4 separate regions of the Homo sapiens genome follow, and regions 1, 2 and 4 are each linked to region 3. The links are contacts of gene promoters, found by promoter capture Hi-C in human tissues and cell types (Jung and others, 2019). All regions are on one chromosome and are shown on one strand. Each heading gives the region's core, a stretch centred on a gene start or on the middle of the fragment in contact. The rest is flanking DNA. Distances are from core to core; before and after follow the strand shown.

The links. The method cuts DNA at HindIII sites, captures the fragments that hold promoters and counts their contacts. A contact is called where the count stands out against the background at its distance.
Region 1: a fragment that was not itself captured here is called in contact with the fragment with the promoter of ZNRF4 in region 3 in 4 of the 25 tissues and cell types used here (IMR-90 fibroblasts, dorsolateral prefrontal cortex, liver and 1 more).
Region 2: a contact is called between a fragment that was not itself captured here and the fragment with the promoter of ZNRF4 in region 3, in 5 of the 25 tissues and cell types used here (H1 embryonic stem cells, dorsolateral prefrontal cortex, liver and 2 more).
Region 4: a fragment that was not itself captured here is called in contact with the fragment with the promoter of ZNRF4 in region 3 in 2 of the 25 tissues and cell types used here (dorsolateral prefrontal cortex and lymphoblastoid cells).

Annotation. Positions count from the first base shown.
Region 1 is chr19:5,279,104-5,281,803 of GRCh38, reverse strand. The region is part of intron 2 of PTPRS (protein tyrosine phosphatase receptor type S); the gene reads left to right. Among named protein-coding and RNA genes, the nearest start is that of PTPRS, 60 kb to the left of the region's middle. RefSeq lists an enhancer at 1,318-1,487. The HindIII fragment of the contact is 3,738 bases long and covers 1-2,700 here.
Region 2 is chr19:5,606,822-5,609,521 of GRCh38, reverse strand. All of the region lies in intron 9 of SAFB2 (scaffold attachment factor B2), which reads left to right. Among named protein-coding and RNA genes, the nearest start is that of SAFB2, 15 kb to the left of the region's middle. The HindIII fragment of the contact is 3,966 bases long and covers 1-2,700 here.
Region 3 is chr19:5,454,102-5,456,801 of GRCh38, reverse strand. ZNRF4 (zinc and ring finger 4) reads right to left here and starts at 1,385. Exons shown (of 1, transcript NM_181710.4): 1 at 1-1,385. The coding sequence starts at 1,310. The coding sequence ends at 21. The HindIII fragment of the contact is 14,927 bases long and covers 1-2,639 here.
Region 4 is chr19:5,249,543-5,252,242 of GRCh38, reverse strand. The region is part of intron 9 of PTPRS (protein tyrosine phosphatase receptor type S); the gene reads left to right. Among named protein-coding and RNA genes, the nearest start is that of PTPRS-AS1, 73 kb to the right of the region's middle. The HindIII fragment of the contact is 4,501 bases long and covers 1-2,700 here.

The DNA of each region.
Region 1 (2,700 bases), core at 8-2,507, 170 kb after region 3:
ACAGGCAGCTGGATGCGTCTCTACCCTCAGCCAGCTTCTGCCCTTCCTTCCAGCAGCTCCAGAGGGAGGGATTTTTACCAGAAGTAACATTCTTGACCCGGCCACAGTGACTTTTCCTCATGTCCTTGGCTGAGGACGCATGGCCCCGGGTCACCATTCCTGAGGCCAGAAGGAGGGGGCAGCCCCAGCCTCAATGTGGAGCAAAACATCTGCCCTAATCAGGCTCAAGTTCTGGATGTGGAAGGGACAGTAAGATGTCGGCTTTGGAGGCAGAAACCCGGGTTCAAATTCCAGTGCTGTTATTTCTGAACTCTGTGATCTTTTTTGTGGTGGTTTGTTTTTTGAGACAGAGTCTTGCCCTGTCCCCCAGGCTGGAGTGCAATGGCGTGATCTCAGCTCACTGCAACCTCTGCCTCCTGGATTCAAGCAATTCTCCTGCCTCAGCCTCCCGAGTAGCTGGGATTACAGGCATGCGCCACCATGCCGGGCTAATTTTTGTATTTTTAGTAGAGATGGGGTTTCACCATGTTGTTCAAGCTGGTCTCGAACTCCTGACCTCAGTTGATCCTCCCGCTTTGGCCTCCCAAAGTGCTGGGATTACAGGCGTGAGCTACCATGCCCAGCTTCTGAGCTCTGTGAACCCATTAACATTCCTGAATCAGTACAGTGGGATTGGCTGTTGCTGCAACAGAGGGATAAATAAGAGTTGAGGGGCCAGGCGCGGCGCCTCATACCTGTAATCCCAGCACTTTGGGAGGCTGAGGTGGGTGGATCATTTGAGGTCAGGAGTTCGCGACCAGCCTGGCCAACATGCTGAAACCCCCTCTCTACTAAAAATACTAAAATCAGCTGGGTGTTGTGGTGGGTTCCTGTAATCCCAGCTACTTGGGAGGCTGAGTTAGGAGAACCACTTGAACCTGGGAGGCGGAGGTTGCAATGAGCCAAGATTACGCCACTGCATTCCAGCCTGGGCAACAGAGCGAGACTCCATCTCAAAAAACAAACAAAAAAAAAAAGTTAAGGGAGGCTGTGCATTCCTGTACATGGTGGGTCTAGTGATTTTTTTGTTTTGTTTTGTTTTGGAGACAGAGTTTTGCTTTTGTCACCCAGGCTGGAATGCAATGGCAGGATGTCAGCCCACTGCACCCTCTGCCTCCTGGGTTCAAACGATTCTCCTGCCTCAGCCTCCCAAGTAGCTGGGATTACAGGCACCCGCCACCACGCCTGGCTGATTTTTGTATTTTTTTAGTAGAGACGGGGTTTCATCATGTTGGCCAGGCTGGTCCTGAACTCCTGACCTCAGGTAATCCATCCGCCTCAGCCTCCCAAAGTGCTGGGATTACAGGCATGAGCCACCACGCCCGGCCAGGTCTAGTGACTTTTGGGACAGATGCTCAAAGCACACACATACGGTCATATCAACAGGAGCAGAGCCTTGAGTGAGGGAGGTTAGGCTGGTCAGGCCACTGGGGCAGGAACTCTGTTTTGTTTAAAGCCCAGCCTGAGCCATGGATGGGTAGGCGTTGGGGCCCACAGGGACCTACCCTTGGAACCTCGGGCCTTCTTAAGGCCTCTCTGGGCTTCTGAATAGCTGGAACTTTCCAGAACTTTTCTGGTCAACCTGTGTGGCCCCTGGACTCACTCTACCCTTTTCTAGCTGGTCGTAGAGGCTCAAAGTCCTAGCGTTGCTCAAGTTTGAGTTGTTAGACCTCAGCCTCTCCTCAGACCCCAAACTTTTACTTAAAACAAAGTTTTGCTCCATTTTTTCTTTAATCAGCTCACTTTTTTATTTAAGCAATTTTATGTTTTAAAATAACTTCAGGCTGGGCGTGGTGGCTCACGCCTGTAATCCCAGCACTTTGGGAGGCCAAGGTGGGTGGATCACGAGGTCAGGAGATCGAGACCATCCTGGCTAACACGGTGAAACCCCGTCTCTACTAAAAATGCAAAAAAATTAGCCAGGCATGGTGGCGGGCGCCTATAGTCCCAGCTACTCGGGAGGCTGAGGCAGGAGAATGGCGTGAATCCGGGAGGTGAAGCTTGCAGTGAGCCGAGATCACGCCACAGCACTCCCGCCTGGGTGACACAGTGAGACTCTGTCTCAAAAAAATAAAAATAAAAATAGATAACTTCAGCTGGGCACGGTGGCTCACACTGCTAATCCCAGAGCTTTGGGAGACCGAGATGGGAGGTTCACTTGAGCCCAGGAGTTCCAGACCAGCCTGGGAAACATAGCGAGACCCTGTCTCTGCAAAAGATTAAAAATTAGCCGCATGTGGTAGCAAGCGCCTGTGGTTCCAATTACTCAGGAGACTGAGGCCAGAGGATCCCTGGAGCCCAGGAGTTTGAGGCTGCAGTGAGCTATGATTGCACCACCGCACTCCAGCCTTGGGTGAGAGTGAGACCCTGTCTCTGTAAAAAAAAATAAGAAGAAGAAGAAAAAATAAAATAAAAATAAAAATAAAAATAACTTCTTCAATTTGTCTTTAGTTCTACATGTAAAAAGGTACCAAAGTGGAAATCTCTGTCCCTGTGTCCAGCCACTTAGCTCCCTGGAGGCAGCACTGTTTCTACACATACATACAATCTTTCCCTTTTTCCTTTTTTCTTTTTTTTTTGAGACAGAGTTTTGGTCTGTTGCCCCGGCTGGAGTGCAGTGGTGCGGTCTGAGCTCACTGCAGCCTCCACCTCCCGGGTTCA
Region 2 (2,700 bases), core at 44-2,543, 150 kb before region 3:
GACCAGCCTGGCCAACATGGCGAAACCCTGTCTCTGCTAAAAATACAAAAATCAGCCAGCCGTGGTGTTCTGTGCCTGTAGTCGCAGCTACTCGGGAAGCTGAGGTGGGAGAATCACTTGAACCCAGGAGGCAGAGGTTGCAGTGAGCCAAGATTGTGCCACTGCACTCCAGCCTGGGTAACAGAGCGAGACTATGTCATAAAAAAAAAAAAAAAAAAAAAGAATGAAGTGAATAATTGACTTTCATATCATTTAGCATTTTAAGTATATAGTCTCATAACTAGAACATGATCGTGGTTCAAAAATAAATCACTAAGATGCTGCTCATGGGGGTGGGAGAAAAATAGTACAATTCAGCAGCTTTCCAAAGGAAGGTGAGGACAATTTAAAATGATTCCACTGTTTGAAATTAATTAAGAGTCTTCTTTTTTTGTTTGTTTGTTGTTCTTTTTTTTTTTTTTTTTTTTTTTGAGACTGCGTCTCGCTCTGTTGCCCAGGCTGAAGTGCAGTGGTGTGATCTTGGCTCACTGCAGCCTCCGCCTCCCTCCCAGGTTCAAGTGATTCTCGTGCCTTAGCTTCTCGAGTAGCTGGGATTACAGGCACCCACCACCATGCCTGGCTAATTTTTGTATTTTCAGTAGAGATGGGGTTTCGCCATGTTGGCCAGACTGGTCTCCAACTCCTGACCTATGTGATCTGCCTGCTTGGCCTCCCAAAATGCTGGGATTACAGGCGTGAGCCACCGCGCCTAGCCAAGAGTCTTCTGGTAAGCAATTGGCACTGCCCTGGTCTCCTGGGTGCCTCTGGGGAGTGGCTTCCAAGGGACAAGGTTCGGACCATTTAGTGTCTGGAGGGTGCCCTGATTCCAGGCAGAGTGGGCCCTGTCTGACACAGTTTTCTGGCTACAGAAGCCGTTCCTTTGTCTAGGTCTGTGTCACCCGATCAGGTGTTGGTTAATGTTTCATTGCTTAAGAAGCGGACAGGACCCGGAGAAAGCGTGCTGTTCAATTTTTCTCTGAACAGTCTGTGTGTTCAGCAAGGGCTTAGGAAATTCTTATAGCCATGAATAACCTGTTTATTCAGTTACTTTGTTGACTTCACTCGGACACTGATGATTAAGCAGAGGTAAACATACGTGGTCACTGTCATCACAGATTTTTTAGTCTGGCGGGAAAAAGACCATTTAAGAAATAAACACATATGATGTGTTGTGATGAGCGTATTAAGGAATATTAGAGCACGCCGTCAGTGTGTTGGGGAGGCCGTGTTTAGATTTGGGAGGCAGCTTCAGCAGAGCTCGCTGAAGAAGTGACATTCAGCTGAGGCGTGAGTGACAGAGTTGGCCTTACCTGTGGGGCTCAGCTCTGGACAAAAACAGAAGGACGTAGGAAGGCCAGAGGGGCAGGACACCACTCAGCTACTTGACTGAAGTATGCAGAGCCTCCAGGGCGGATGGCATAGCTCAGGGATAGGGACATACAAGCTTAGTATGGTGCCTGCTCTCATTTGGGTTTTGTCTGTCATCAGAAGAGATATACTTGTAAGGATGATTAATTTGATGGGAAGGTAGAATGGGAAGTGGCATCTGTGTTTCTCTCAGGAGAGTCTTCTGTCCCTTTGGCCCTGGACAGATTCAGGCAGAGCCTTGACTCCTCCATTTGTGTGGTCAAAACCAAGGACGTCAGATGGGAACCTCAAGCTTGTGGGTTCCACCTTGTCATTTCACAGTTGGGGCCATGAGGTCCAGAGACGGGGAATGCCTTGCTTAGGTTGATGCCCTGAGTCAGAGATAGGGCAGAGACCAGGACTCCTGTGTCCCGGGGAAATGTTTACTCTGCGCGCCAGTGGTGGTGGGCTTGGCGTTAGATCTACTGTCTTGTTCTCTATTTTCTGTTCATGTTTGTTTATTGATCTCTTTTTCCCATTTATCTGCCTTCTTGTGGGTCGAGTCCTTTTTATGACTGATGGCTTATTTGCTCTAACTCTGTGTCATTGTGGTTTACTGTAGGATTACAGTACACATCTTCCCTTACAGTCTGTCTGCAAGGGGTGCTCTGTTGGTTTCAGCGTAGTGCAAGAACTCTGTGGGAATATACTTGCATTTCCCCTCCCGTCGATCTTTGTGATGTTATTGTCATACGGTTTACTTCTCTTTAAGAAGTCACCCAATATTTTATTGGCTTTGACTTGTTGTGGTTTGGCTTTTTTGCTTTGAACAGTTGTGTTTTTTTTTGTTTTTGTTTTTGTTTTTGTTTGTTTTTGAGACGGAGTCTCGCTCTGTCGCCTAGGCTGGAGTGCAGTGGCGCGATCTCGGCTCACTGCAAGCTCTGCCTCCTGGGTTCATGCCATTCTCCTGCCTCAGCCTCCCAAGTAGCTGGAACTACAGGTGCCCGCCACCAGGCCTGGCTAATTTTTTGTATTTTAAGTAGAGATGGGGTTTCACTGTGTTAGTCAGGATGGTCTTGATCTCCTGACCTCGTGATCCTCCCACCTCGGCCTCCCAAAGTGCTGAGATTACAGGCGTGAGCCACCACGCCCAGCCAAACAGTTATATTTTAAAGAGACCCAGAAATGACAGGAAAAAATCATGTTCACCTCACCAGGTGCTCTTCGTTGCTTTTTGTTGTATATCCAAGTTCCCATCGGAGATCATCTTCCTCCCTCCTGAAGGAATTGAATGTTTCCTGTAGTGCAGGTTTG
Region 3 (2,700 bases), core at 136-2,635:
CCCCTCCCTGCCCTAGATCTTTACTGACCAGGGGCCTCAGGAGGGGCTGAGGAGACAGTGGTATACTCTGCCTCCAGGGACGTGGTGCTGCAGTGGCAGTGGGGACTGGCGCGGCCCAGCAGCTCCAGCCTCCGGGAGCGTAGCTGGACTTGAATGGCCCAGATGGGGGGCCGGTGGCCCGGTAGGGAGGGGTCCTCGTCCCTGAAGCTGTAGGTGGTGGAGTCAAAGCTGTCTTCTGTGGCGGCCACCGACTGTTTGCACACGGGGCAGGAGCGCCGGGGGGCTTGGGAGAACCAGGGGTCAATGCATTTGCAGTGGTAGGTGTGGGAGCAGGGCAGGATCTTGAGTTGGTCGCCCTCCTCATACTCATCCAGGCAGATGGCACACAGGTCGTTGTGCCACGTGAAGGTGCGGACCTGGGCCTTCTGGCAGGTAGACGTCTTCACCGGCCGTCTGTGGCTGCAGCAGGCCTGGGCCCAGAGCCACAGGTGGTTCAGGACAAAGAAGGCTGATACGACCAGGGCCAGGGTACAGCCCAGCACCCAGGACACGGTCAGCACGGGGTGACAGCCCAGGTCGTGGCACGGTGGGTCGTCGGGCAGGAGCAGCGCGTGGGCCGACTTGTTGCAGCCCAGGATGACCCGCAGGTCCTGCGAGGCGGCCTCGCTCACGAACACTGAGGGGATGGCGATCTGGCCCCTCAAGTCCTCGTAGACGTGGGTCATGCTCACGAGGTCGTCGGAGTGGACGTTGTGCACGATGGCCGCCTCGAAGCCGGCGCGCTGGGCGTTCAGCACCTTGAGGTCGAAGGTGCAGTCGTAGCGGCGGATCAGCACGATGGCGCCCAGAGAGCGGTTGCCCAGTCGCGGGGCCTCGATGGGATGGCACGCGTTGGCTGGCTTGACCTCCATCAGGTAGCCCCGTATGCCCTCGGGGGCCAGGGGGACGCCGAACAGCGCCGGCAGATCCGCAAAGTCCACCGAGCTCGAGTTGTCTTCCAGCACGGCCCGTACCACTGCCTGCGCGGGCACCTGGAGCAGCGACAAGACCAGCAAGGCTTTGACTGCCACGAGGGCTCGGCCCGGCCGTGGCCACCCCATGGTCACCCGCTTCGCTGTCTGTGTGCTGCTAGGTCCCACTGGAGGCGGCAGGCATGAGGCCTTTGGGCATCTCCGGGGTCTCCCAGGGGGCCTGTGGCCAGGACGCGAGGGCAGTTGAGTTGGAATGACCGCGTGGCTCAGAGGCAGTGACGCGGCCACTGGGACCCTGCTGGCTCTAGGCATTAAGTGCTCCGGACGGCAGAGCGGCATGCGTCGTGTCTTTGAAGGCCGGTCTCAGGAGGTGCTGGCGCAGGTGGCCTTTCTGGCAGATGACATGGAGACCAGGAGTCACCAGGGTTCTAGATGCCCCCAGCTTCTGTGACATCGCCCTGCTACATTCTGTCCCAGGAGCTGCCAGCTGCCTGGGCCTGTGGCCAATGGATCATTCCTAGGTCTGTGATTTGCCGGTACCCGGGCAAGCTTTGAGATAACTTCTTGAAGGCTCAGGGTATCTTTGGACCCAAGGAGGCCCAGGGATGCTTCAAAAGGGCTGCCGGCCCCCAGCAGTGCAGATTCAGCCCTCACTGTGCGAAGACGCTACCAGCATCAGCTTCTGGAGGTTCCTAGCAACACACTGTAGAAGGTTCAATGTTACCCTTGTCTGAGACTCCAAGAGTGACCCAGACTTGTTCAAGCCACGCCCCCCTACAATGAGATCAGTGCTTAAAACCCAAATTCCTGACCCCCTGTCACCATCCCTCACTCTGCTCCAGCCACACAGATCTCCTTGCTGTTCCTCCAACACACCAGGCAGGATCCTGCCCCAGGGCCTTTGCATGGGCTGGGCCTCCTGCCTGGAAAGCCCTTTCTCTCCGTAGCTGGCTCTTTTATCCGGACTCAGGTCTGAGTCCATATATCCTCAGAGCCCTCCTGGACTTGATTTGGAGGGAGAGTCAAGTGCCAGGGTCAGGGTGGGGCTGGTGGGGGTCAGTGGTCCCAAGTCCGCACCGCCAGGTTGGCCTCCAGGCTTGCACCAGCTTCATTCTCTCTCCCTATAGCATTGCCTCTCCAGCTGGGTCTCCAACTGTGCCCCCTGCCTGAGCTTCAGCCCTGGGCATCAGCCTCACCTCCTCCCCAGTCCCCATCCCCCAAATTTCACACCCTCAATCTGTCTGCAGCCCACTCAAGTCGGATTTCTGTCTCTGCCATTCATAAGCTGTATGACATCAGCTAAATTCCTTAGCCTCTCTGGGCCTCAGCTTCCAGACCTGTAACATAGTCTTTCCCATGCTCTAAACTCTCCCATGGCTCCCCATTGCCCTCCAGATAAAGCCCACACTCTTCTCTGTGGCCTACATGCACCCCTGTGGTTGGGCGCCTGCCAATCTCTGAAGCCTGGATGATTTGCAATGTCCCAGAGGCATCTTGCTTTGTTCACCTCTAGAATTTTGCAAATGCTGTTCCCTCTGCCTGGAACAGAATTCTTGCTCCTCAACTTCACTTTGCCAGGCTGACTACTTAGTCTTTAGATTTTCTGTGTTGGCCTAATACCTCTCAGAGCAGCCCTCAGCCAGTGACAGATGGGAGGTGGTAGATAAATGCCCCCACTCCCTCGTCCCTCTTATGGGACAAATCGAAGTATGTTCTACCATATCTCCTA
Region 4 (2,700 bases), core at 129-2,628, 200 kb after region 3:
AAGAGGCCGATGGGACTGGCATAATTTAACGCAGAGTCTTGAGTGCTAAGCTAAGAAACCAGTACCTGCTGCGTGACACCAGCAAGGCCTAGATTGCCCGATTCCCAGGTCTTCTTTTTCAGTATTTGTGACCTGTCCCCAGGCCTTTTCAGATCAATCCATCTATGCAAATTTATGGGGAAAAATTGTTTTTTAAATTAAATTTCCAATACCCAAGCCCTAAAATTGATGGATGTGACCCCAGGTGTTCCCCTTACCTCTTGGCCCCCCAAAACAGGGACAGACATAGATGGTGGGCTGGAACACCCCTCACCTCCTGTATTCCCAGAAAGCCTCGCGTTGAGGTGTGTTGGCCAGCTCCCTAGTTTGTGCTTACTATACCTGGCCACGCCTCCCTACCTAAGGCCGCTGGCTTAACCCTAGGGGCAGGCAGTGTTAGATCAGACCCAGACCTTCTCATCCCACCCTCATCACATCGGGGAGAGGGGACTCCAGGGGCGGGAAGGCAGGCGTCCCTCCATTTGGCCAGGGTGGGCGGCGAGGAGGGGGTCACTCTGCAGGAACACTGAGCTCTGAACACCTCTCGCCTGCTGCCTGCCTCACACCCTCTGCATTCGCTGTTTCCTCTGTTGGGGGAGGGGGTTTGTGAGGGGAATATTAGATTACACCTTGTCATTTGGAAAGCCCCGTGTCTCCGGCGGCCACAGCGAGGTTGGGGGGGTGGTGAGGGAAGTCCATGGATTGGCCAGAACTGGGGGAAAAACAAAAAGAAATGAGAGAAAGAGAGAGCGGGTACCAAAAAAAAAAAAAAAAGTATCTAGAGCGCATCCAAAGGTCCAGCTCAAAATACCAATGACTTGCCAAGGCCGCTGGTCAGCCCGTGGGCCAGGGAGCCAGCCAGGTCCCTCCGGGCCTTGCACGCTACCTCAGTGGCGGAGGGAGCTGGCGGTGGGGGGGAGAGGCGGGAGGGAGGGAAGGAGGCACAGCAAAATGATGGAGAAGGGTAGCAGAAAATACGCAGGTGGGCTGAGGGGCGGTGCCCACCCTCCTTGGGCTACAGGCTGGAGTTCAAAGGAGAGGACAAGAAGTGGGCTATGGAATTAGGAATGTTTCCAACCCCTCCCTTCCCCCCCGACAGGTGTAATCTAAGCTTAAATAAACCCCCCGGAGGCTGCACAATTTCTTGGCATCTCTCCCCTGCCCTCTCCATCCGCATATTCATTTTGGAGTTTGGAGAAGTATCTAGAATCTTCTCCCACCCCAAAATGCCCAGCAGAGCCCCCCCCCCCCCCCCCGCCGCCCCCGCACCCCTTGGAGCTGCGGCTTGCTGAATCGTTGAGATGTCTGACACTGTCGGGGTTCCCTACCTAGTGCTTCAACCAGATCACCTCACTTTTGAGTTTCCTTCCTCCCCTTTACCCTCGCCCCCACTCCCAACCCCCTTTTTTGGTTTTTGTGTTTCTGCCTCTTCCTGCCTGGGGGAGGGGTCGTCTCCTGGTTGCTTTGACGGTTTTTGAGTTGTTTTTCCATGTGAATCGGGGTTTGAAGCGACCACCCCCCACAACCTGCCACCCCCCCACCCCACCGCCCACCCTCCCGACCCCCTCGCCCAAGCGGGTCCCCCCGCTGGGACCCCCCGGCTACTCGGTGACGAGAAGAGCTGGAAACCAGAGCCAGCTGGAGCGTGCTGAGGACCAAGGCTGGTGTGGTCCCCTTATAACCTGCCTGGACCCTCCATTCAGGTCGGTAATTGGGGGCGGGGGTCCCGCGGGGCCTCTCCGTCCCGTGGGCACCGTGCCCACCTTACTTTCTAACCTGCACCTCAAGCTTGCAGCCGGGGGTGGAAAGATGACATGGGTGGGTGCCAGCACCAAACCGGGCAGAACACAGCGTCAGTCACCCGCCCTTGCCAGCTGGGAGGATGCCCAGAGGCCTTACAAGGCCGCCAGGGAGGGGGAGATCTGAACCACCTAGTGCCAATGGGCATGATCCTCCCTTAAACTCGTGGCAAACCAGCCCTCTTCCTAGAGCACACCCTTTGAAACAAATGAGGCGGGTGAGAAAGCAAGTGGGCAAGTTTCTTAGGTGTCAGAGGAGCCATTATAATTTATTGGCAGGTCCATTTAACTGATGGTTGCCGGCCATGTTGGGGATTGTGAACCCTAAAATTACTGCTGTTGATAAATGCCCTCCCACATTAAACTGATTTATAGTTAACCCTGTACTGCAAGTCTTTTACATATTCAACAGGTATCCCCTTGTCTCTACTTCTAAAAAAAGTTAAAGGTACCTTGCAAATTATGACATCCCTATGGAGAGATATTTTAAGATAAGATCAAACAGGAACAGGGTCTTTTGGATAAGATGTTGACCCTTACAGAATAGATAAATTGGCCTGGCACTTAACCTTTAGATCCTAAAGCTAGATCTTACTCCCTTTGACGTTCCAACAATTCCTTTGAGTATAAGCCTTTTACTGATGGCTTCTGGACATTTATTATGATGGCTACTGGATATTATTCAACCAGTGGCAACTGGCCATTACATGGAGTTTGGTATAGGTGATGGGTACTTTTTTCCTCTTTGGTGTCCCCAGTGGGTCAGGACACACAAGTTTGAAAGAGCTAGATGCCAAGGATTGATACTTGGCCGTAATCCTCGTTACTCACTATGGTGAGAAAAGCCTTGTTTTCTCTGAGA